Linked DNA regions of Homo sapiens: all the other regions are linked to region 2. The links are contacts of gene promoters, found by promoter capture Hi-C in human tissues and cell types (Jung and others, 2019). All regions are on one chromosome and are shown on one strand. Each heading gives the region's core, a stretch centred on a gene start or on the middle of the fragment in contact. The rest is flanking DNA. Distances are from core to core; before and after follow the strand shown.

Region 1 (5,301 bases), core at 412-2,911, 420 kb before region 2:
CAATGGTCCACAGTACATTTGTCAAACTCTGGCTTATTCGGTCTTAAATAATACCAGCTCTGGGCCAGGTTGAAGGCCTCTCTTACCACCTTCCTATCATGGTATTTTCTCCAGCATGAAATGAAGATGTTCATCTCATCATCTCCCTACTAGTAGTTCGTATCACTACTGCAGTTGTTTAGCCTCCTGTGAGAAACTGCTTAGAAAGAAGGATCTATATTTCACCCAAAATGAACAGCAACTTTCTGGATATTGAAGTTGGGACAAATGAATTTCCTAATGTCCAATATCCAGAAAGCTACTATTTAACAATATATCCAACTTAAATTACTGAACAAAAATTTTTAACATTGGTTGGAAGCATCAGCATTGTGACACTTTGCTGGCTTAGGAGGTAGCTATTCTGGAATAGGAGGTAGGTACTCTCCCAATGTCTGACAAATTAAGTCTTACAAAATGTGTTTCTGCTAAAACAAATGAGGAAAGGCATTATGGACCCACAACCAAATTCCATTATCCATTCTAGAATCCAAACTCTGCTTACAACCCCCCAAATTGCAGCTTTCTAATTTTAAAATTTTTCATATCCAGACTTCATCAAGCCCCCTTACTCCATAATTTTCTCTGGCAGACCTCAAAATTGAGTATAATATAAGATAATCAAGAGAGTAGACACAATGCTTCGGGTAATTAGAGGAAGCCAAGAGACCTGCAGCTGGAGGGCTAGGATGACTGGGAATTGCTCATAGAGTTGGGTGAGAATTCTGAAATCCCTTCTGCCTGACTCCCCTCTCCATAAGCAAGGGAATCCAATCAGCGTAGGTATCAGTTGGTTTCCAGGCAGTGAAGTAGAAATAGAGACATGGAATTATATAATAACTCTGTTGATTCAAAAGTGAGGGTGAGACCCAGCTGAGACCACCAATGGGCAATTATGCTTGTTTCTGTGCATCTGCCCCTGGATGTATGCAGGCACATGTCTTTGGACTCTGGTGAGCACAGGCTTTCTACTGAAGAACAAGTTGAGGCAGTATATTCACCCCAGCTGGAAAGCACAGAAGCCAGGCTGGCTGTGGTGAGGGGTGTGGAGTTGTGGCAGAAGTACCTGGTCTCCCAATTTCCACATGCACAAATGGTACTAAAAGAAAACCAGGAAGTACCACCAGTAGAATTGTCACACAGCTTCCCAAAGAGTCAATCAGCACTTGACTGTGAATCTCATCCCAGCTGAGATGAATCCAAGGTGTCAGAAACACCAAGAGGCCATCAACCTACGTGAGTTAGAATGACCTTCCTTAAAGATTTGAGGAATTAAAGAGCTGTGAGAGTGATTACAGACAACGTAGAGGTTTTACAGGTCTTACAAGTTTTGTAATTCAACCAGTTTCTCCTCTCTGGACCTCTGTGCCTGCCACGTTTCTGTCTTTCGCCTGCATCCTGGGTAATATCATGCACACTCTTTTAGGGGGCACTGTATCATAACTCCTAATCTGCCAGGCGGAAGGACAGAGAAATATTTCTGATGGTTCCCCAGAGTGCAATTGATCATAAAATACATTCAGTCCTATCTTCTCTAACCAGTAATGTACTGCATTTTCAATCCAGATATAGCAGAACTTGTCATGGATGAAGGAAGAATAAAAATGAGCCTTAATTCAGCCTAAATAGTTCATTGGCAAAAAGTAGAGGAAGCAGCAGTGTGATAAAAGGGTAGTAAAAAGAGGAAAAGGTTGTCACATTGTAGCTTACTCATCACTTTGAACCAGCCCAATGAGAAGATGCTGGCAGGCTGACATGGAGCATCCTTATGTGCCGTGGTGGCAGCAGGGCCCAGGCTGCTGGCAATGACAGCAGTACCAGCAGCTGTCACCCTCTGGACAAGCTATGCGCCAAGAGAGCTGGTTGACATGGAGGTGAAGAGACTCACTCTGTCCTAGCCCGGACTTCATAGCACAGATGCTTCCTGGGCCATGTAGCCCACAGGTCCCCTCAGTCCTACTGAGTAAATGGTGGAGAGGGAGGAACTTTTTTCTTATAATTGAAGGATTAATGCCAAGGGCTTTCCCTTCAAAGCAGAGGGTTGACGATGGGGATGAGGGATTATAACTCCGTACCTAATATGATTGGTTAGACCGAAAATATTCAGAAAGATCAGACAAGGACAATCTTCAGCTGATGCCACCAGGTTAAAGCTAAGGACAAGCCACCCAGCTCGACGAGACTGTCGAAAGGAAAGCATCCTAAACTGGCAGGCAGAATGTTAATGAGAAAAGAGAAAAGAGTTAGTTTAAGGGAAACAGTCACACATAAATACCACTCATATGTGTGGACGAAGCCTGATAATTCTTACTGTTGAAAAAAAAATACACATTCTAAAAAGGAGTACAAGGTTAAGAAAAAACATCATAGAAAAAAGAAGCAGAAGAATGTAGTGGACTGGAACTCCAAATGTCCTGCTGAAATATCCAGCAGGATAAAAGGAGAGGAAACTGAAGCTTAGGCTAGGAAGACACAGTGACTGCCAGAATCAATGCGGTGTTTCTCCTGTCCCTCTCCACTTCTGTGGCTGACGGCCATTTGTCTATCAGCCTTCCTGCATCCTATTGGTGGTGAGCTCTCTGTCAGAATCCCTGAACGGAAAGCCTTGGGGGAATTGAAAGCCATTCTCACTTGGCCAGTTGGACAGTGGTAGTTAGTTCATACCTTTTCTCATCAGATTTTGAACATCTGGCCACTGTTGCATCCAGTGAACACCACACTCCTGGTAGATTAAAGAGAAGCTGCCATGGCCTTCAGCTTGCAGTGACTACAATGCAGCATTAGAGTAAGATGAATACCTAACTGGGAGAGGCAAGAGGAAAAAACATGAAGATACAAAGACAGGAAGTCATGTGGCCAATCTCAGTGGTCAGGTGACGCCATGCAGTGAGCAAAGGAACAGATTACACTGAAAAGTAATTTGGGAGAATCCACCACACTTGGTAATAAGGCAGCCATCCCCAAAGCAAGAGGTCAGTTTTGCAGCCACTTCATGCCAATTCCATCATCAGTTCCCTAGAACATAAAACCTACAATTCTTTTAGCCCCCTTTCTGTTGAGCAAAAGCACAATTGGTATTGGGATAACACAGAGCATTATTCCAACCTAAACAAACTTGGAAGATTCTAATTTTCACTGTTGTCCACAAAGAGGTGAGAATCAAAGAAAAAATAGTAACTAACACTATTCAGCCAAGGAATGCCAAGGATTTCCCACAACCCTAGGAAGAGACAAGGCAGGATCCTCCCCTAGAGTGTTGAGAGAGAGCATGGCCCTGACAACACCTTGATTTTGAATTCCCAGAGTTCAGAACTGTGAATGAATACATTTCTGTTTTATTTAGACCTCCCAGTCTAAATCTGGGGCAGCCCTTGGAAACCAATACAAACCCTTCTTCCCCTGCTGCTTGTGGAAATCTCCCAGAAAATGGGGCTGATGCTGGCACCCTCCCGGGAGAAGCACCACAGAAGACTGCAGGTGAATGTGATGAAGAGTGAATGGCGCATAGGCTGGGAGGAAAAAACCTTCTGGAATGTCCATCCTCAGCAAGACACTCGGGCCAGTCTGTGTTTTATGAACCCTGAAATTCCCCATAAAACCTGTACTGCTGATGGGCTAGCCCCTGCTCAGCAAATTAGGAAAGGAAAGACAAGGGTAGATAGAATTAACATTCACTGAGAAATTATTGTATGCCAGAACACTGAGAGCTGTTCTGAGTGCTTCACACGTAATATCCCATCAAATCCCCCAGTAACTCCTATGGTGGGAATGATTAATAGCCCTACTTTACAGATGAAGAAGGTGTCTCAAAGAAGCTATGTAACTTGCATGAGGTCACTCAGCTAATAAGTCATAGAACCAGGATTTGACCCCAGGCAGTCTCTGAATGATTATTACAAGTTCAGAGACTGGGGGATTTAGAAGCTTCCCAATCCAGTTTTGTGTCCAATTAGGAATAAGAATAGCCTCTGTTGGGTCCTGGGAAGATGGCTGTCTAATCCCAATCACAGGGAGCTCACTGCCTCACCTGGTTGTCCTTCTGCCAATGGAAGGATCTGAGCTAGAGATTTTAACTCAAATGCCTTAAGGAGTCCAGCAAAGAATGTTAGGGAGGGAGGTAAGCAGGATGGCTTGTGGCCTGGAGAGTACAGGCCATCTGGATGTGTTGATGATGGAATAAACAAAGAAACAGACACTGGGGGAGACAAATTCAGCCCCTGAATTGGCCTGGGGGTCAGGCTGTCTGACTGAAGCAAGAGCCCTGCACAGGATCCAGAGCTGTGCTAAAAACCCCTAACAGGCTATGCTATTGGGACCAAGACAATATCAGATGGGGGTAGTCAGGAAGTCCAGAGGGGCCTCAGGAAAACAGAAAAAAAGGAAGGATGGATGGGACGAGGGAAGGAGGGGAATGAAGAGATTATGCTGAGTCCCAATCTCTGATCATTTTGGTTTAGGGCAGTTCTTTGTTTTTGATTTGTTTTTTTTCTTCCCCATGCTTGCTTGTTTATCCTCCAAACATTGAGGTATATAATGTGTGGCTATTTTAGGAGAATTTCCTGGCAGAATGTCCATGCTCTTGTTTCTGGAAGTTAAACCAACCGAAGTGGTTTGAGGATAGAGTAGGTAAGGTCATATGCAGAAACGTGGAGAGAGGCGGAGGGATTGTGTTGCCTGAAGTGGTATTCTCTAGGGCAGGAGGGTAGGGGAAGAGTGGGATCTGGGGGTCCTAAAAGCAGAGAGGAGAGGCTGAAGGGACCACCTCTGCCATGAGAGGATGGGCAGCCCACCAAGGCCCACGGGCACCTCTTTAAGCAGCTGGTCGTCTGTGAGACTCTGAAAATTTAGCTCAGTCCTAGAGTGCAGGTTGGCGGTAAACAATAAGATTAGATATCCTGGCATCTCAGGATCAGAATTGAAGCTGGTTTAATTTGTGGAAACTAGAGATGCAATATTTCTTTCATACATGAGCCTGTACGTGGAGGGTGAAACCCACAAAACAGAGTAATGAGTCCAGATTTGCAGCCAGTGGAAACTTCCATTTGGAACCATGCTTGATCACGAGGAGCATAGTTTACTTGGATATTGCAGAAAGACCATCCTGTGTCATGGAGAGAGGGTGCCAGGCACCACAGAGACTATTCAACACCATCTTTGTGCCCTTTGAAACCTGCCTACCTGAGCCAGGCCAGCTGCAGTCCCTTGATTCCCTGTGAGCCCTTAAGACTGTGGACACCTTCTCCACTAGGGCGAGGCCGAGGA
Region 2 (5,717 bases), core at 2,970-5,469:
GGATCACAAGGTCAGGATTTCAAGACCAGCCTGGCCAACATGGTGAAACCCTGTCTGTACTAAAAATACAAAAATTAGCCAAGCACAGTGGTGCGCACCTGTAGTCCCAACTACTAGGGATGTTGAGGCAGAAGAATCGCTTGAACCTGGGAGGTGGAGGTAGCAGTGAACCAAGACCGTGCCACTGCACTCCAGCCTGGGAGACAGAGCAAGACTCCATCTCAAAAATAAAAAAAAATAAAAATCTTCAACAACAACGGCAAAAAGTGAACATGTGTCAAATAAGTGTAGGGAGTGGAGGGCACATGCTCTATTATCTTCTGTTCTTTGAATGTTTGAAATGTGCCATAATTACCTTTTTTTAATTTAACAGGGGGAATTTTTATGAATTGTGGCTGAAGATCACTTCTGATTATTCCTCAGAGAAGGTTTAGGACACCCTTTGATGAACCCAAAGTCATCAAGTTCCTACCCTGGCCATACCTTTTCTCCAAAGAAAAGTAATCATGAACACAGCATCTGGTGGGACACAGAGGGTTTTGCACCTCAGGCTGGCCTGGTGCTATTGGGGCAACAGTGCAGTGCCGATGCTGGGGTGGCCTATAAGTGGACCCACAGGGTGTCCGTACCTGTCCTTCCATCCATGCTTTTTCTTCTCCCGTTGCCCCATCCCCATTGTTAAACACCTCTACCAGTATCTGCTTCTTTCCCTTCGTGAAAGGAGGCGTGTTTCTAATGATGTATCTATCCTGCCACCTAGCCTTCAGCAATATCACTACAACAAAGTTGCCTCATGCTGCTCTTTAACACAGACTTCAGTCTTGCTGAACCTCCCAGAGCTAGGGAAGGACCTGAACAAGGGGGCACTTTCTTTATTGAACATCACTGTACCTTAGTTTGGGACCAGGACAACATGGCCGCAGCATTAGTATTCTTGATGTGTGTTGGCCTCTGGGAGAGACTGAAGTCAATGTCATGAGGTCTTTAAAAATTGAATAAATTATATAAATAAGCCTGTCTGAGAGTGGTGAGAGTGACACAGAAAAGAGAATGAAGACAAGATCCTTAGCTAACATTTTTCCATTCTAACCAGTAGAATCCACAATACTTTGTGTCCTACTAAAAAGTCTAGCTTTCCCAAACTGTGTTATCAGGCATCATCCTTGAAAATCACTTAGAAACTCACAGGAAATGACCACAGGCAAGGCATCCGAAGCTTTATAAAATAAAAACACTATCTATCCTTTGAAAAGTTATCCAGATAAAAGATCATAAATCTTTCACTCCGCTGCATTTCTTGAAAGCTGGCTTTGATAAGCAGTTAATCTTTTAAAGGAAAGAGGAGGAGTGATCTCCGGGGAAACGGGACACAAGTGGTTGATATTTAAATACTACTTCCCCGAAAAAGATGCAGTTGACAGGTATAGAAGCTAGTCTATGCCAGAGTTGGGAAGCCCATGACAGCGAAAGCAAGCCGGCAGCACAGGGGGGTCTCTAGGAAGGGAACATTTGTATCTGGCAGGAATTAATGATCCCCTCCCAATTACCCTGGTTGATGCAAACTATTTTTTTTTTCTACAAGCAATTTTCTAAAGGTGATTGTGAACAGATCTAGACCTCCAGAATGGAGGGAAGGGGAAAATGGAATCAAGTAAGGCTCATAGGCATCCTCCATAATCCCGTATCCTGCAGTAACAACACCAACACCTTCCCACTCCATTGTCATATGTTAATTATGGACTCAGAAACAACACCCATCTGGCCAGTCCTCCATCTTTGGATGAAATTACTATAGACAATCCCAGGCTACTGAGAATTCTTCTTTCTCTCATGCCCTCTCGGGAAGCCTATCCCAGGGTCTCTTGGACAACAGCTCCAGTGTCTGAATCCCTTATAACCTAAGCCCATTTCTAAGTGGAGATAAAGAATGGCTGCTTAGCACACCAACACAGCACATGTATACATATGTAACAAACCTGCACATTGTGCACATGTACCCTAGAACTTAAAGTATTAAAAAAAAAAAAAAAGAATAGCTGCTTAACATTTACAGTCTTGCAGAGTAACCTCTCTCCATGGCCCCTGTACTGCTCTGCCCCAGGGTCCGGCTCCCACCACATTCTCCTCCCCCCTTCTCTCTACCCTTTTTATCTTTTCTGTGAATGATCCCCCCTCCTTTTACCTGTCTTCACATATTGTATTATCCAGCCATTGGAAGTCGGCTACACAAAAAGAGGTGTCACTAGAGGCCATCTCTCTCAGAATACAGGGTGACTGGAACGAGGCAACTCATGTTTCTTTGGAAGGAGTACCACAATTTCCCCCAATCATCTTAAAAGCTACCAGTGTGCCTGAGGCAGGCTGAGCTGCTAAGGGTGTGCAGAAAGAAATAGGAGCAGGGAAGAGAACATACTGCACACATTCTGCTGCCACTCTTGTAGTCTGAACTTGACACAAATGACAAAATAACACATGATTTCCCTCACTTCTAAAATATTTCCACCAAAGTTTTGAATATTGATTTGTTCCTACCTTACCAAGCCCTCAGACTGAGAAAAGAAGAAATTAAGATGAGCCTTGCTGCTATTTTTTGTTTTAATCATTACACACAATGCTCCTCCCTCTCCCAGCCACCACGTGGCTAAACCCCCTTTGGCAATACAGGCAAAGACATAACTTTAGACGTTAACCTTGTTTTAAAATGTGCCTTTCGGCAAATAGATAAGTGAGAAGAGAGATCAGGATCTGGGGGTGTTAACGGCATAAAGTGAGATGCTCCTGAACTGAACGAGCAAGAAAAAATATTTTCTTGAAAGCAGTCCTCCAGAAAGAATTCTTATCATAGATAAGGGTGCAGTCTAGTGGCAAACTTCATGAAATGCAGCCCCTTCTCCAAAGGAAAGTTAGAATACTTCTCAAGGGAGGAAGCACAATGTAAAAGGTGTAACAGCCCACACCAAGTCCACCCAGCAGGGGCAGTGACATTGGTCATTTCTCTCTGACTTGCCTGTGAGGCTCATGGCTCACTCAGGTCAATTTCAGAAAAAGCTAAAACCACCACCTTCCTATTTCAAGGCCTTAGTTTTCTTTCATTTTATTAAAGAGGTTCTAGTGGCATGATTCGGTTCCTGGTCAGGACCTCTTCCAAGCAGGTCCTGTGGCCCTGTCAGCTCATATTCCTGGGATGTGCCTATAAGCACCAACTAACCTGTCAACCTATCACAAGGTCTCCTCCAGCTACTCTGCCACCCACTCCCTCCAGGGATGTGGCCCTGCCCAATAGAAATACCTCTGCAAAGTGACAGAGAGGGAAGTGTCACTCCAATCCACCTTTCTTCCCTCTAAGAACCCCACACACAAGGACACTTTAGGCCACCATGCAAGGTTTTCAGACTTAGCATTTCCTCCAAAGTGTCCATCTCTGCAACTCACTGCTCTCAATAATGCTGTTGTATGAATGTCCATTCCTGCAGATACACAACACACACACATACACACACACACACAGAGAGAGAGAAAGAGAGAGAGAACCTCCCTGGCCAACGCAGCTGAAGGCAACTGGTCACCTCTTCATCATGAGTACTGAAACCCCCTGATTAAATCCTCTTCTCCAGACTTTTAGGGGAGAAATTCAATTTTTTCTTCTTTTTTAAATTTAGCTCACCAGACATCACTGGCCATTCTACACTACCTGTCCCCCAAACACACACACACACACACCCCACATGGAAACAGACACCAGCATACAGTCAATTGCAGAAGCTTAGGAAGATTTCTTGGGCACGGTATATCCAGTTGGCTAATAAGAAAATACGTCTCCCTTCAGCCTGTGCCTTGACTACTTAAAGGATAGGAGGGAAGGGGAGACGAAGTTACTCTCCTCATTGTGTTCACCCTGCTCCGAAGAACTCTGTCTTCCACTGGCCCCTCCACCTCCTCCCCATTCTCGGTAGCCCCAGCCTGTCCCCCTTGCCCCTTTCTTACATTCCGGGGGGAGGAGGGCGCTGTTCAGAGGGGAGGAGGGCGCTGTTCAGGGAGCGAAGGGGAGCCCCCTTGTGTCTAGAAGGCCTCTCCCCACCCCCACCCCGTGTGAGTTTGTACTGCAAAGCTCCTTGGCATCCTTGCCTGAGTTGGGTGTTGGGAAGCTCAAATTGCAGCTACAAACTGGCTGGCAGCCAGGGGCCGGCTATTTAAAAGCGCCTGCTCTCCCGGAGCCCCGTAGTCTCTTTGGAAACTTCTGCAGGGGAAAAGAGCTAGGAAAGAGCTGCAAAGCAGTGTGGGCTTTTTCCCTTTTTTGCTCCTTTTCATTACCCCTCCTCCGTTTTCACCCTTCTCCGGACTTCGCGTAGAACCTGCGAATTTCGAAGAGGAGGTGGCAAAGTGGGAGAAAAGAGGTGTTAGGGTTTGGGGTTTTTTTGTTTTTGTTTTTGTTTTTTAATTTCTTGATTTCAACATTTTCTCCCACCCTCTCGGCTGCAGCCAACGCCTCTTACCTGTTCTGCGGCGCCGCGCACCGCTGGCAGCTGAGGGTTAGAAAGCGGGGTGTATTTTAGATTTTAAGCAAAAATTTTAAAGATAAATCCATTTTTCTCTCCCACCCCCAACGCCATCTCCACTGCATCCGATCTCATTATTTCGGTGGTTGCTTGGGGGTGAACAATTTTGTGGCTTTTTTTCCCCTATAATTCTGACCCGCTCAGGCTTGAGGGTTTCTCCGGCCTCCGCTCACTGCGTGCACCTGGCGCTGCCCTGCTTCCCCCAACCTGTTGCAAGGCTTTAATTCTTGCAACTGGGACCTGCTCGCAGGCACCCCAGCCCTCCACCTCTCTCTACATTTTTGCAAGTGTCTGGGGGAGGGCACCTGCTCTACCTGCCAGAAATTTTAAAACAAAAACAAAAACAAAAAAATCTCCGGGGGCCCTCTTGGCCCCTTTATCCCTGCACTCTCGCTCTCCTGCCCCACCCCGAGGTAAAGGGGGCGACTAAGAGAAGATGGTGTTGCTCACCGCGGTCCTCCTGCTGCTGGCCGCCTATGCGGGGCCGGCCCAGAGCCTGGGCTCCTTCGTGCACTGCGAGCCCTGCGACGAGAAAGCCCTCTCCATGTGCCCCCCCAGCCCCCTGGGCTGCGAGCTGGTCAAGGAGCCGGGCTGCGGCTGCTGCATGACCTGCGCCCTGGCCGAGGGGCAGTCGTGCGGCGTCTACACCGAGCGCTGCGCCCAGGGGCTGCGCTGCCTCCCCCGGCAGGACGAGGAGAAGCCGCTGCACGCCCTGCTGCACGGCCGCGGGGTTTGCCTCAACGAAAAGAGCTACCGCGAGCAAGTCAAGATCGGTGAGCGCGCTCAGTGTGCCAGTCAGTTACGCGGCGCACGGGCGGGGGACACGAGACCGGCTGGGCCCGCGCGCTTTGCGCAGCAAGTGGCTTCGAGCTGGGGTGCAGCTCGGGAGTAGTCGGGGAGGGTCCTTGCACCCCGGAATTGGAGCCCTGGAGGATCCTGCTACCCGGGGGAACTGTCTAGCCGAGTCTATCCCAGCTTTCGCTCTTTCTCCTTCCTCCTACCCACACGTTGCCCGCCCCCTCCCCCTACTCTGTCCGAATACTGATTCTGAGCTCTTATTCGGTCACAAGGTCCAAATCCCCTGGTACCCTATCTACAGTCTGAAAGAGTGTATGTTACATTATCAACTCCCTCCTCCACCCCCCTCGCGCCCCGCATAGG
Region 3 (5,803 bases), core at 1,894-4,393, 270 kb before region 2:
GAGCCCAAGCAAGAACTGCCTCATTGAGCCCAGTCAACACACAGAACTGGGAGCTACAATGATCATTTGTTTTAAGCCACTGAGTTTTGTGGTAGTGTATTACACAGCAGCAGATAACCAGAATGCACTGATACGCAAATAAAAGTTGAATTGAAGGGCAAGAATTATGCTGGCCTTTTCTCTACAGTTTCTACAATGCCTCATAGAGTGCTTTTTCCACAGCTGAGGAAGCAGACAGCTTCTCACTTTACAGACAGAAGGATGAAAAATAAATAGGACCTCCTCTTTATAGGGGCTATGAATAACTTCACCTAAGCATGGATGGGATGCCTCTGCCACCTGCCTACGTGGTATCCTAGTACCAAGAGAGACTGAAGAGTCACCTAATCCATTTGCTTGCCTCTCGATACTACTTCTCCTTAAAATAAATCCTGCCAGAGAGCTCTCTACCGTGCTTTGTTTTCTTTTTAATTCCAAGAAAGGGAGATCTTGCAGCTACCTCTGACAGTGCATTTCAGCAGCCCATACATCTCAATTAGAGTATTCTAACAGGTGTTTCACCTCAATCCCTCCAAATGCAGTCTCACCCTTTTCTTCTTTCTTCTTCATCTTGTTTCTTGCCTTCATTTTTCTAAATTTTGAGGAGTGCTGAAGGAAATGTTACTCACAAACTCTTCTTTACTTTTCTTTCATAGACGTGAAAGGCCACATCACTCCATCCCTCTACTGAAGCTGAAATGTTGTCATTTAGAGATGCCCCAGTTTACCAACCTGAAAAATGCAAGACACAACCAACCATCTGCCCTGCTTACTTGAATGAGTTGATAAAAAGAACAAAACTAAAATGAATGTAGGAAAGCAGTTTCTAGGCTCTATAGCATACCATGCATACATAGCATCCTGGGTTGAGTTGGCTGTTGGATTAAAAAATCTCACAGAGAAAGCATATTGGTTGTTAACTAGGGCTGGGGCAAGGGGGCGATGGGAGTGTTGCAGTGGGGTTGGCTAAGGCATGTAGAGCTCCTTTCTGGGGCAGTGAGAATGTTCTAAACTTGTAATGATACACAACTCTGTGAATATGATTTAAAAAACACTGAATTGTACACTTTAAATGGGAGATTATATGCTATATGAATTATAGCTTAATAAGTCTATGAAAGAGAAGAGAAAAGAAAATGAAAGAAAAGGGAAGGGAAGGGAAAGGAAAGGAAAGGAAGGGAAGGGAAGGGAAGGGGAAGGTAGGACGGAAGGAAGGAGAGAGAGAGAGAAAGGAAGGAGGGAGGGAGGAGGAAGGGAAGAACTTCAAAGACTCCATCTCTTTACTGGTCTTTCTGGCCCTGACATTCGTCTTTCTTCTCAAGACCTTCTGTCACTTGTCGTTCCCTGAGCCCCATCAGCCCTATGCCTCTGGGGAGCCCAGGGGCTTTGTGTCCTGTCTCTAACACTAGGCCCATTTTTGTACTGAGTTCTCTCCATAAAGAGAGCTTGTCCTCTACTAAGAGTAGAGAACAAGAGAAGAAATGGACTAATGTCAAGTGAACAACAAACTTAGATAAGACAAAATGGGTGGTTAGAGTCTGGGATGTGACAGTATGGGGTGGGTTACAGTCTCTAGAATAGGTGTGTGAAATGGAACCTAAAAAAGATATTCAGTTAATGAAGGACTATAGCTCTTACAACTGGCTTACAGGGATTGGAGATGAGAGGCAGTAAGTCCCTCTTCATCTTTACTTTAAAGGCACTCTCTCCTCCTTACTTGCCTCTTTTTCATCTCCTAGAAATGCTGGAGAAGAGGAAGAAAGAGCTTTGAGAACACAGCTCATAGCTTGACCCAGTTTCCCCTGCCTGCTTCCCTAGATCTGCCTTGTTCTGCAGAGAACCTTCTCTGACACCTTCCCATCCAAGCAACCACCATGGAAAATGGGCAAGAAGGAGCAAGTTCAGGAGACCAGAAAGACCTCCAGGTATCAAGGGAGCCCCCAGGTCTCCCACCCCATACCCTGGCTGCAGAGCCGCTGACCCTCTCCTGCCCCAGCCTAGAGCTTTCCAGGGCCAGGACAAAGATGGAGCACTCCTTAAGGAGGCCCTGCCGCAGGACCCAAGCTGACATGCTCTTTTAGGGTGTCTCAGCCTTTCTCAGAACACAAGTTGGTCTAGAATCAGCACTCTGCAAACTATAAGAATAAAAAAAGAATCCCACTTTTGGGGAGCACATGGTGGGAGAACCAGTGCTGTGACTCATGCTGGTCCCAAGAGACAACACCCTGACCCTCAGCAGCCCCCTGCAGCACCTGCTTCCTCCACCGCCTACTGCTCTCAACTCCCATCCAGACCTTCATCCTGCCAGCACAAATCAGCAGAATGGATGTTGGACAGCTGGAATCACCATCAGCTCTCACTATGTCTCTGATTCCTGCAGGGCCTGCCCCATGCCCTCTTCCCCCACCCTCCCATGGCCTCTCACTCAAGTTCATTCTTCTCCTGGCACCAACAGCCATTTTCCACCACCCTGCTGGCCTCTGTCCAGCCAACCCCCCAAGGGGTTTTCACTCTCCACCTCATCTGTCTCCTTCATGCTCCTCCTGCTGGAACTGGGTCTTCCAACTCTATTTCTAGATTCTTTCCATTGCCCTCTCTTTGGCTAGGTGGCTTGCTTCTCCAACCCCCCTTGCATTTCTCTGGCCCCTAATAAGCATCTCCAGGATGGAAGATGGGGAGCTACAGTTTGCAACTATGTTCTTTGTTCCTAATGGAGTCCTCCTTCCCATCCTCCCCAATCCTGCCATAGAAACACAGAGCTTTGATGAAAGGAGGGCTTTGTCACTACCTCCTGTGCCTGGAAGAGGTCCTCAAGTCCTCTCTGTGATGTCCCTGCCACACAGGGAGAAAGAGGGATAATTCCTGTCTGTGCTGGACAGAACCCTGGTTCCATAGCCTCCTCCATCCACTCTTTCACTGACTTTTCATTCCCCACTCTCTTCCTCTGCCCATACCCAGGTAGGAGGAGTATACTCTCAAATTCCACTACTGTAGTTAACATTCACACAGATTATTAGGTGCTAAAACTTTCCATAGGTACTAGTCACTAAGGGCTACTGACTTGTTTCTATCTTTGGGTGATTCTTTAAGCTGGGACAGAGCCCTCTTTTTCTAAACCTGGGAATGTCATTTCTTTCATCTTGGGCCCTCTATTCGATTGGGCTCTCTCCTGCACTCCATGCTGCCTACACCTGGCCCCTTCAATCTCTCAAAGCTCCACTTCTAAGAATCCTGAAAATATCTTTCCTTACATTGGTGAATACCCAGAACAATTTTGCATTCCAAAAATGATTTCTATTGGCTCTCTTTACTTTTAAAAAGACTTAGCCTACATTTACAACTGCAAATATATGTAGATATATGTGTACATATATGTACATGTATGTGTACACACACATGCACACATATATAACATACGTGTGTATGTATGTATACACACACATATATATAATCTTGCCTCTACTCACTCCTCAATCTGCAGTATTTAGTCTTCCTGAGATTGAGATAGAGGAATATTTCAGAGAACATTGTAAAAAAAATTTTCAGAAAAAACTGCAGTGACAAAGCATTAGAGAAACTAAAATACATGACTATGCATCAAGAATAATTATTACTTTGTTCATGTAATTTTAATAAATAATAAATTTAAAGAAGCTTTTTATAATTTTGATTTAATGAGTATATACACATATATTATTTTAGCTTTTTAGAAAGAGTTTTACTTTTGCCCGGGCCATGGTAGCTCACACCTGTAATCCCAGCACTTTGGAAGGCTGAGGTGGGTGGATCACCTGAGGTCAGGGGTTCAAGACCAGCCTGACCAACATGGTGAAACCCCGTCTCTACTAAAAATACAAAAAATTAGCTGGGCATGGTGGTGCATGCCTGTAATCCCAGCTACTCTGGAGGCTGAGGCAGGAGAATTGCTTGAACCCGGGAGGCGGAGGCTGCAGGGAGCCAAGATCACACCATTGCACTCCAGCCTGGGCGACAGAGTGAGACTCTGTCTAAAAAAAAAAAAAAAAAAAAAAAAAAAAAAAAAAAAAAAAAAAAAAAAAACAGAAAGAGCTTTACTTTTGAGAGCAGTTTTGAATAGAACTATTTTAACTATTTTATAAGCTCCACAATATAACAAAACTAATTTTTGGTCAACAAACAAATTAAAAATAATTATTTTATCATCCTCTTTGACTCTTAAGGATGACAATAAGTTCTACGGCAACCCTGAGTGTAGAGGAACACAAGAAAAAGTATCAGCTGGGCGCAGTGGCCCATGCCTGTAATCCCAAAACTTTGGGAGGCCAAGTGGGTGGATCACCTGAGGTCAGCGGTTCGAGATCAGCCTGGCCAACACAGTGAAACCCCATCTCTACTAAAAATACAAAAATTAGTGGGGCATGGTGGCAGGTGCCTATAATCCTAGCTACTCGGGAGGCTGAAGCAGGAGAATTGCTTGAACCCAGGGGAGGGAGGTCGCACTGAGCCGAGATAGTGCCACTTCACTCCAGCCTCAGCAAAAGAGTGAAACTTCATCTCAAAAAAACGAAAAGAAAAAGCATCGTAACTGAAGCTGCTGTTACCTCCAAGCCTAAAAGAGCAAGAGGAAAAAGTGGCATGGAAACCCGGGAAGAATCACGTAGAAATGGCTTCTTGAAAGGACTTTTTGTTCAAAGGACATCAGCTCCTGATGATCTCACAGAGGAGGGACCCAGAAGAATCAACCCTCTTCTCTCTCTCTCTCCTTCCTCTCTCTGTCTCTGATTGTAGCTGGAGATTCCCACTGATTGAACCCAGCTGCAAGAAGGGCACAAGGATCCACTGATGTGACCCATAAAGGTCAGCTGCCCAGGGCAGAGAGCAGAGTGGAGAAATGCAGAGAGCAGGTCTGGAAGGTTAAACAGAAGATACCTGGTCATTCACTAAATGTTCTCCAGGTGTGGCTTTTAAATGATTTTTTTTAACTATGAATCCTTGGCTTGAGTTAAATCTTACAAGGAAGCCAAGTATGTAAAACAAAAAACCACCCAATGAGGAATGAGAGACCTAGAACCCAAAATTCCATCCAGGGAACTCCACTGAGAAAGGCTTAGAAATGCTTAAAAAGCACTGTCCTGCAACGTGAGTTTAAATGGCTACATAGAATTCTAATGATTAATGTACCATTATTTATGAAAACAATCAGAATAAATGCAAAGTTTTTCTCAACATAAGCAGTGTTGTGATAAAACATTAATTACTATCTGAGAAAGATTTCTGAAAGTAGAAAAACTGGCTTGAAAAGTAGGGACACTCTTGTTTCTTGATTTGTGTTGCCTAATTACCCCTCCAAAATACTGTACATTTCAAAACAATTTATAGTGCTTGAAGAGTCTGTTTTTCTACATTCTTGCCAAATTGTGGTATTAATGGTTTTTAATATTTTTGTCATTTTTTAGACACACAAAAATAATATATCATTGTTATTTTCTTTTTGAGTCAGGGTCTTGCTCAGTCACTCAGGCTGGAGTACAGTGGTGCCATCACAGCTCACTGTAACTGCAAACTCCTGGGATCAAGCGATCCTCCCACCTCAGCCCCCAGAGTAGCTGGGACTTCAGGTGTGTGCCGCTATGACTGGCTAATTTTTTAATTTTTTGTAGAGACAGGGTCTCACTATGTTGCCCAGACTGATCTCAAACTACTGGCCTCAAGCAATCCTCCCACCTCAGCATCCCAAAGCCTGGGATTATAGGCATGAGCCACTGCACCTGCCCTGTTATTTTAA
Region 4 (5,797 bases), core at 207-2,706, 330 kb before region 2:
TTTAATTGTATTGTAACTGTTTGTTTGTCCAGCTTCCAAACAAGACTAGTCTTGGAGGAAGGAATGATGTCTTTCTTCATATACCCCTTGCCAGAGCAGTGTTTGCTACCCACTAAACTTGCACTTCATAGCAAATATTTGTTAAATGAACAAAGATGCGACCAGATAAACAGTGACTGAAACCAAAGATAAAATGGTCACAAACCCAAAAGCATTTGATGCACTATGGCTTTGGGGTAAATGAGTCAGAAAACATAAAAATTAATATGTTGCTGCAGCATCAATACTCAGCATAGTATCTCTGGGGGCAGAGGATGAAATTAAGGAGACAGAAAGCAATGAATTAGACACAAAATTCAGTGTGGGCCAATGATTGGGACAAAAATGGTAGCAGCCTAACTATGATTACAACAGGGAATTGCTGACTGTTAAACTAACTTGATGTAATTTAACTCATTAATTGGTTTTTCAAGTAATGAGAGGCTTGGTTTTTCTGGCTCGGGAGAGTGGAATTAGTTCCAAATGGAAAATAAGGAGAGGCAGATTTCAATGCAACATCAAGATATTTCTAGCAATAAATCTGCTTACATATGGACTAGGTCAGAATGTAGGAGTCTTTGTTCTACCACCTACTGGCTCTGTCACCTTGAGCAAGTTCTTTAACCTCTCTGAGCCTCAATTTCCTTGTCGTAAAATACATACAATCATAGTATACACCTGAACATAAATATTATAATGACATAATATATTTAGCATGCAGTAAGCATACAATGCGTATTGACTTTTATTAGTAGTGGAACTTAGTTCCCTATAATTGAAACTTTTGGAACAATGGTGGAATAATTATTAAGTGCAAACATTTCTTTTTCCTTTTTACTGTCTCTGTAGTATTATACTGATTTCCATATTATCTCTCCTAGTAGATCATAATTTGTCAAGGTCATGGTCCAAAATCTATTTCATTTTAATAACTTCCAGATCCCTTGCACCTAGGAACCATTTGAGCAATATATGTTGAACTGAGAGATAAAGAAGATCTAAGCATCAGAGGGAAGAGAAGACTAAGTCACCTCCAAAGTTTATTTAGACAACAGAATCCTCTGATTCGTTCATGCATGCATTCATTTACTCAACAAAATGGTGTGGGTGGTAACAATGTGTTATGCAATAGCCTGCTGTTGGGGATGAATTATAAAAGCAGGCAGTCTCTGACTACATGGGGCTTAGAGTCTAGTGATTCCAAGACTGCTGAGCTACAAAGTTCTATGTTACCTAAACTACCCTAGAAATATTTTAATGCTAATGGTGTAGTTCTTTGTTTTGTTCCTCTAAATAGATTGCTTATTTTATACTATCCTGGAAAGTCATTTAGGAAAGAGACCAGAAAGGAGCAAAAAGGGAGTGGCTATTGTCAAAAACACACAGCTATTTTTTAGAAGTGCAAATCCAAACCTCATGGATGATACAGGACAGAATCTTTATCAGTAGCAAAAGGCCTATCAAGTTCTCTAATTAGTGCTATCCTTTCCTGCCTCTTCCATTATGCTCTGATAGTCCACCCTCAAATCCCCAGTGCAAGACAGAGTTTGAGAAGTGGACATGTGACCCTAGAAAAGGTACCTTTTTGCTACATAGAATCCAAGAGAGCAGAGTGAAAATGGAAAGGAAGCAGCATCAAACCACATGCTCAGACTTGGGGGTTGGGGGTTGTTCCATCCAAAGCTAATGTAATAAATGCCATGAGTTACCAAAGAATGCCAGACTTTCTCTGGAGATGTCTACTACTCCAGAGGCTGTGAATATTTTCTTTACTTAAAACAAGTCTTTAACCCTGGTGGATCATGAATGGTCTTTGGGGATATGTGAAGTCCTAAAATTACAGACAGAATTAAATATGTAGGTTTTTTAAGGGAGAAGTTTCACAGCTTACATAAGATTCCCAAAGAGATCTGTGGTCCAAAAAATCTGTCATGTTAATTGGAGACATGTTGCTGACTAAGCAGTTATTCTAAATTGGAGGCAAATGGAAGGTTCAGAAAAGCATTCCCATTGTGCTCACAACCAGGTCAATTAAACGCTCACCAGCCTCTGAGCACATCTCCCATTATTCTTCTTCCAGGAAGTTGTCCTCAAAGAACCCTAAAAATTCCATAGCACTCAATGTACACGTATATAGAGAGTACGTGGGTATGAGTGTGCATGCGTGTGTGTATGTGTGTGTGTGTGTGCATGCACATACGTGAGTGAAAGTCCAAGCAGAAAACAGACAGTGCACTGAAATTGGGTTATTTGGGAAAAGCTTAATAAAGGTTCTATTTACTGGGTGTAGTGAAATCATAAGGGATCGTGCAGTCCTCCGTGCTAATAACAGCTGGAGCTATAATCACCCCTAGGCGTTAAGGGTCAAGAAGAGGGAGTGGTGTTGGAACCCAGAGACAGAGAGAACTGTGAGAAAAGTGATGCCTGACAAGAGGGTGACCTTCTGTCAAGGGACGCAGACAGCCCAAGGTGACACACCAGGAGAGAATATCACAGGAATAAATACTACAACTTCTGTCCTCCCTTCAGTGATCTGCCAGGGCTCCCCATTTGCCAAATCTAATAGAAGCCAGAGGACAAGGGAGACCATTGATGTAAGTCATAAGATCAGCTTCCATGAAGTATAGAGTAGACCCGGAGGAACAAACTGAAGAAATTCCAGCCTGGTGTGTGTGTGCACGTGTGTGTGTTCCCCACACATGGGAGGGTAAATAATCTAAATTCAGATCCACTGGTCTTTACCTTCAACAAGTTAAGATAGAGGGGCTGGGAATAAATAAGAGACTCACATTTCTTGCTCACCTCTTTGTCAGTCACTGTAAAAAAAGAATTGCCTCCTGTGTTCACCTAAGACTGCCAACAACTCCAAGTGGTAATATAGGATACAACCAGAAATGGAACGGGAATCTGTTTGACTCCAAACTCATGCATTTTTCACTACACCCTGCAACACCATACTGGAAAAGAGAACTTGAGATATTTGAAGAGCTTGTGCGGAAGGTGTTCTTGAAGTGGATTCTTTTGGTTGAGATGAGGTAAAGAGGTGAGTAAGGGGGGTCACAGACTTCAGGGCCAGTTTTCACAGAATTGAGCCAAGATTAATATGGAGTCTAAGTGTGGGTACTGTTTGAACAGAAACTGTTTTCATATCTATGAGGTATACTGACACAAAACCATGTTTGCGCAAACACACATACACACAGAACCTCACACACACGTAGCCTGCCACAAGAAACTAACTGAGTATGGGTAAAAATAGGGCCAAAAAGAAGAGTGTGATGGACTAGTAGAAAAACTGCAGAGGAAACCGTAGCAGTAAACGACTTCAATAATATTCACCAAAGACAAATGCAAGCATAATAGAATATTTAGTTATCACATAAACATATAGTAATTCAGCCTCTGCAGTTGTGAAGATCAACATGGACAACATCTAGCACAGTGCTGAGCTCTTAAGAAAAGCTCAGTAATTGCATTTTGATGTGGAGAGGGGCACAATGATGGCCTATTTTCTTCTCGGTTGGATTCTTTCAGCCCTTGCCAAGTTAGCAGCCCGGTGGTAGAATATATATTATTTTTATTATTATACTTTAAGTTCTAGGGTACATGTGCAGGTTTGTTACATATGTACACATGTGCCATGTTGGTGTGCTGCACCCATTAACTCGTCATTTACATTAGGTGTATCTCCTAATGCTATCCCTCACTCCTTCCCCCACCCCACGACAGACCCCAGTGTGTGATGTTTCCCACCCTGTGTCCAGGTGTTCTCAATGTTCAATTCCCACCTATGAGTGGGAACATGTGGTCTTTGGTTTTCTGTCCTTGCAATAGTTTGCTCAGAATGATGGTTTCCAGCTTCATCCATGTCCCTACAAAGGACATGAACTCATCCTTTTTTATGGCTGCATGGTATTCCATGGTGTATATGTGCCACATTTTCTTAATCCAGTCTATCACTGATGGACATTTGGATTGGTTCCAAGTCTACTATTATGAATAGTGCCACAATAAACATACGTGTGCATGTGTCTTTATAGCAGCATGATTTATAATCCCTTGGGTATATACCCAGTAATGGGATGGCTGGGTCAAACGGTATTTCTAGTTCTAGATCCTTGAGGAATCGCCACACTGTCTTCCACAATGGTTGAACTAGTTTACAGTCCCAGCCCGGTGGTAGAATATCTCTCTCAAGGCTTTGCTGGATGGAGGGTCTATAGCAGCAGCAACGCTCAAATTTTTTCTATCTCTTGTCTCTTTGTACTGCAATTCCTCCTCAATCCTTGGTGGTAAAAATGGGGTCAGGGCACCTAAAAGGCAACCCTCACTACCCAAACAGGTGTTTCTCTTTGCTTTGCCATAAACTGGTTGTGTAATGTTGGGCCAGGCCAGTCTCACTGTGGGCATCAGTTTCCTCATTTGTAAATGAAAGGGTTGGGCCAACTCTCTCTGGTTCCATGCTTAGCCACGTTACTTCTCATAGTCCTCTCAACATTCTGAATCCTGAATGCCTAGTGCAGTGGCCACAGGTTGTAGGCACTCTATGAACAATGGGGAGCTATAGGGTTCAGTTCAATTCAACAAATACCTCCAAAGTCTAATTCTGACTGTGTTTGGGTCTCACATAACTCTGGTACAGTTTATTCCTAGTAACAATCTTGAATTTTATTATTGCCATGAAAGAGTTAAAGCTTTCTAGTTCTTTCTAGTACTCGTAGCCTCCTGATCACTGTATGCATTTTATATCTCACTCCCACCTTCCAGCCTAAAACAGAGTCTAGGTAACTCCTTGCACAATGACTGAATTATTTCCAAGTTATTGCATGTTCTGGCTCTATGATGGTTAATTATGTATCGACTTGACTGAGGTAAGGGATGACCAGGTAGCTGTTAAAACATTATTTCTGGGTGTGACTGTGAGGGTGTTTCTGCAAGAGATTAACATTTGAATCAGCAGACTGAGTAATGAAGATTACCTTCCCCAGTGAAGGCTGGGTATCATTTAATCCCTCCAGGGCCTGAATAGAACAAAAAGATGAAGGAAGGGCAAATTGACTCTCTGCTTGAGCCAGGCCATCTCTCTTCTCCTGCTCTTGGATGTCTGCACTCCTGGTTCTCAGGCCTTTGGATTTAGGCTGAGACTTACAGTGTTAGAAGAATATTAACCCAGTCTTTCCTTTGACTTCTATAACCTTCGCATTTTGAAGAGTTCAAGCCAATTACTTAATGTGGCTCTCCTTCAATTGGGTTTGTCTTTTCTTTCCTTTTGCTTAGATTTATGTTGTAAAATTGTGATGCTATGCTCTTTTTCATCTGTATATTGGGAAACACATGTCAGATTGTCCCGTTGTTATTGATAACTTGAATCATTTGGTTAAGGTGGTGTCCACCATGCTTCTTACTGTGAAGTTACTATTTTTCCTCTAGAATTAGAAATAGCCTATGAGAAACACTGTGAGGCTATGTAATATCCAGTTCCTCATCAAACAGTCTCCGTAAATGTATCACCCATTCATGATTCTTACCTAAACTAATTATTATTGTAATTGCTGCAAAATGGTAGTGTTCTAACTCTTTTCTAACTCCATTGTTCCTTTTGTATTTGTTAATTGGCATTCTATTGTGAAGAGAAGCTTTCCTTTCTTCTCAATCACCTATTCATTTATTCACTCATTAATTTATATCAGTCTGGACTCATGGATTCTTATTTTGTCAAACATGTTAATGTGTAACTAACCGTTGTTGATTTTGTTGT

What was found. The method cuts DNA at HindIII sites, captures the fragments that hold promoters and counts their contacts. A contact is called where the count stands out against the background at its distance.
Region 1: a contact is called between a fragment that was not itself captured here and the fragment with the promoter of IGFBP5 in region 2, in 1 of the 25 tissues and cell types used here (H1 embryonic stem cells).
Region 3: a contact is called between a fragment that was not itself captured here and the fragment with the promoter of IGFBP5 in region 2, in 2 of the 25 tissues and cell types used here (IMR-90 fibroblasts and bladder).
Region 4: a contact is called between a fragment that was not itself captured here and the fragment with the promoter of IGFBP5 in region 2, in 5 of the 25 tissues and cell types used here (bladder, heart left ventricle, heart right ventricle and 2 more).

What each region holds. Positions count from the first base shown.
Region 1 is chr2:217,115,320-217,120,620 of GRCh38, reverse strand. No RefSeq gene overlaps it. Among named protein-coding and RNA genes, the nearest start is that of DIRC3-AS1, 160 kb to the left of the region's middle. The HindIII fragment of the contact is 6,169 bases long and covers 1-4,745 here.
Region 2 is chr2:216,694,051-216,699,767 of GRCh38, reverse strand. IGFBP5 (insulin like growth factor binding protein 5) reads left to right here and starts at 4,219. Exons shown (of 4, transcript NM_000599.4): 1 at 4,219-5,329. The coding sequence starts at 4,993. It overlaps IGFBP-AS1 (IGFBP5 antisense RNA 1), which reads right to left and starts at 5,322. Exons shown (of 6, transcript NR_187138.1): 1 at 5,007-5,322. RefSeq lists a silencer at 763-842. The HindIII fragment of the contact is 12,405 bases long and covers 2,490-5,717 here.
Region 3 is chr2:216,964,745-216,970,547 of GRCh38, reverse strand. No RefSeq gene overlaps it. Among named protein-coding and RNA genes, the nearest start is that of TESHL, 97 kb to the right of the region's middle. The HindIII fragment of the contact is 8,095 bases long and covers 1-5,803 here.
Region 4 is chr2:217,022,969-217,028,765 of GRCh38, reverse strand. No RefSeq gene overlaps it. Among named protein-coding and RNA genes, the nearest start is that of TESHL, 160 kb to the right of the region's middle. The HindIII fragment of the contact is 7,497 bases long and covers 1-5,204 here.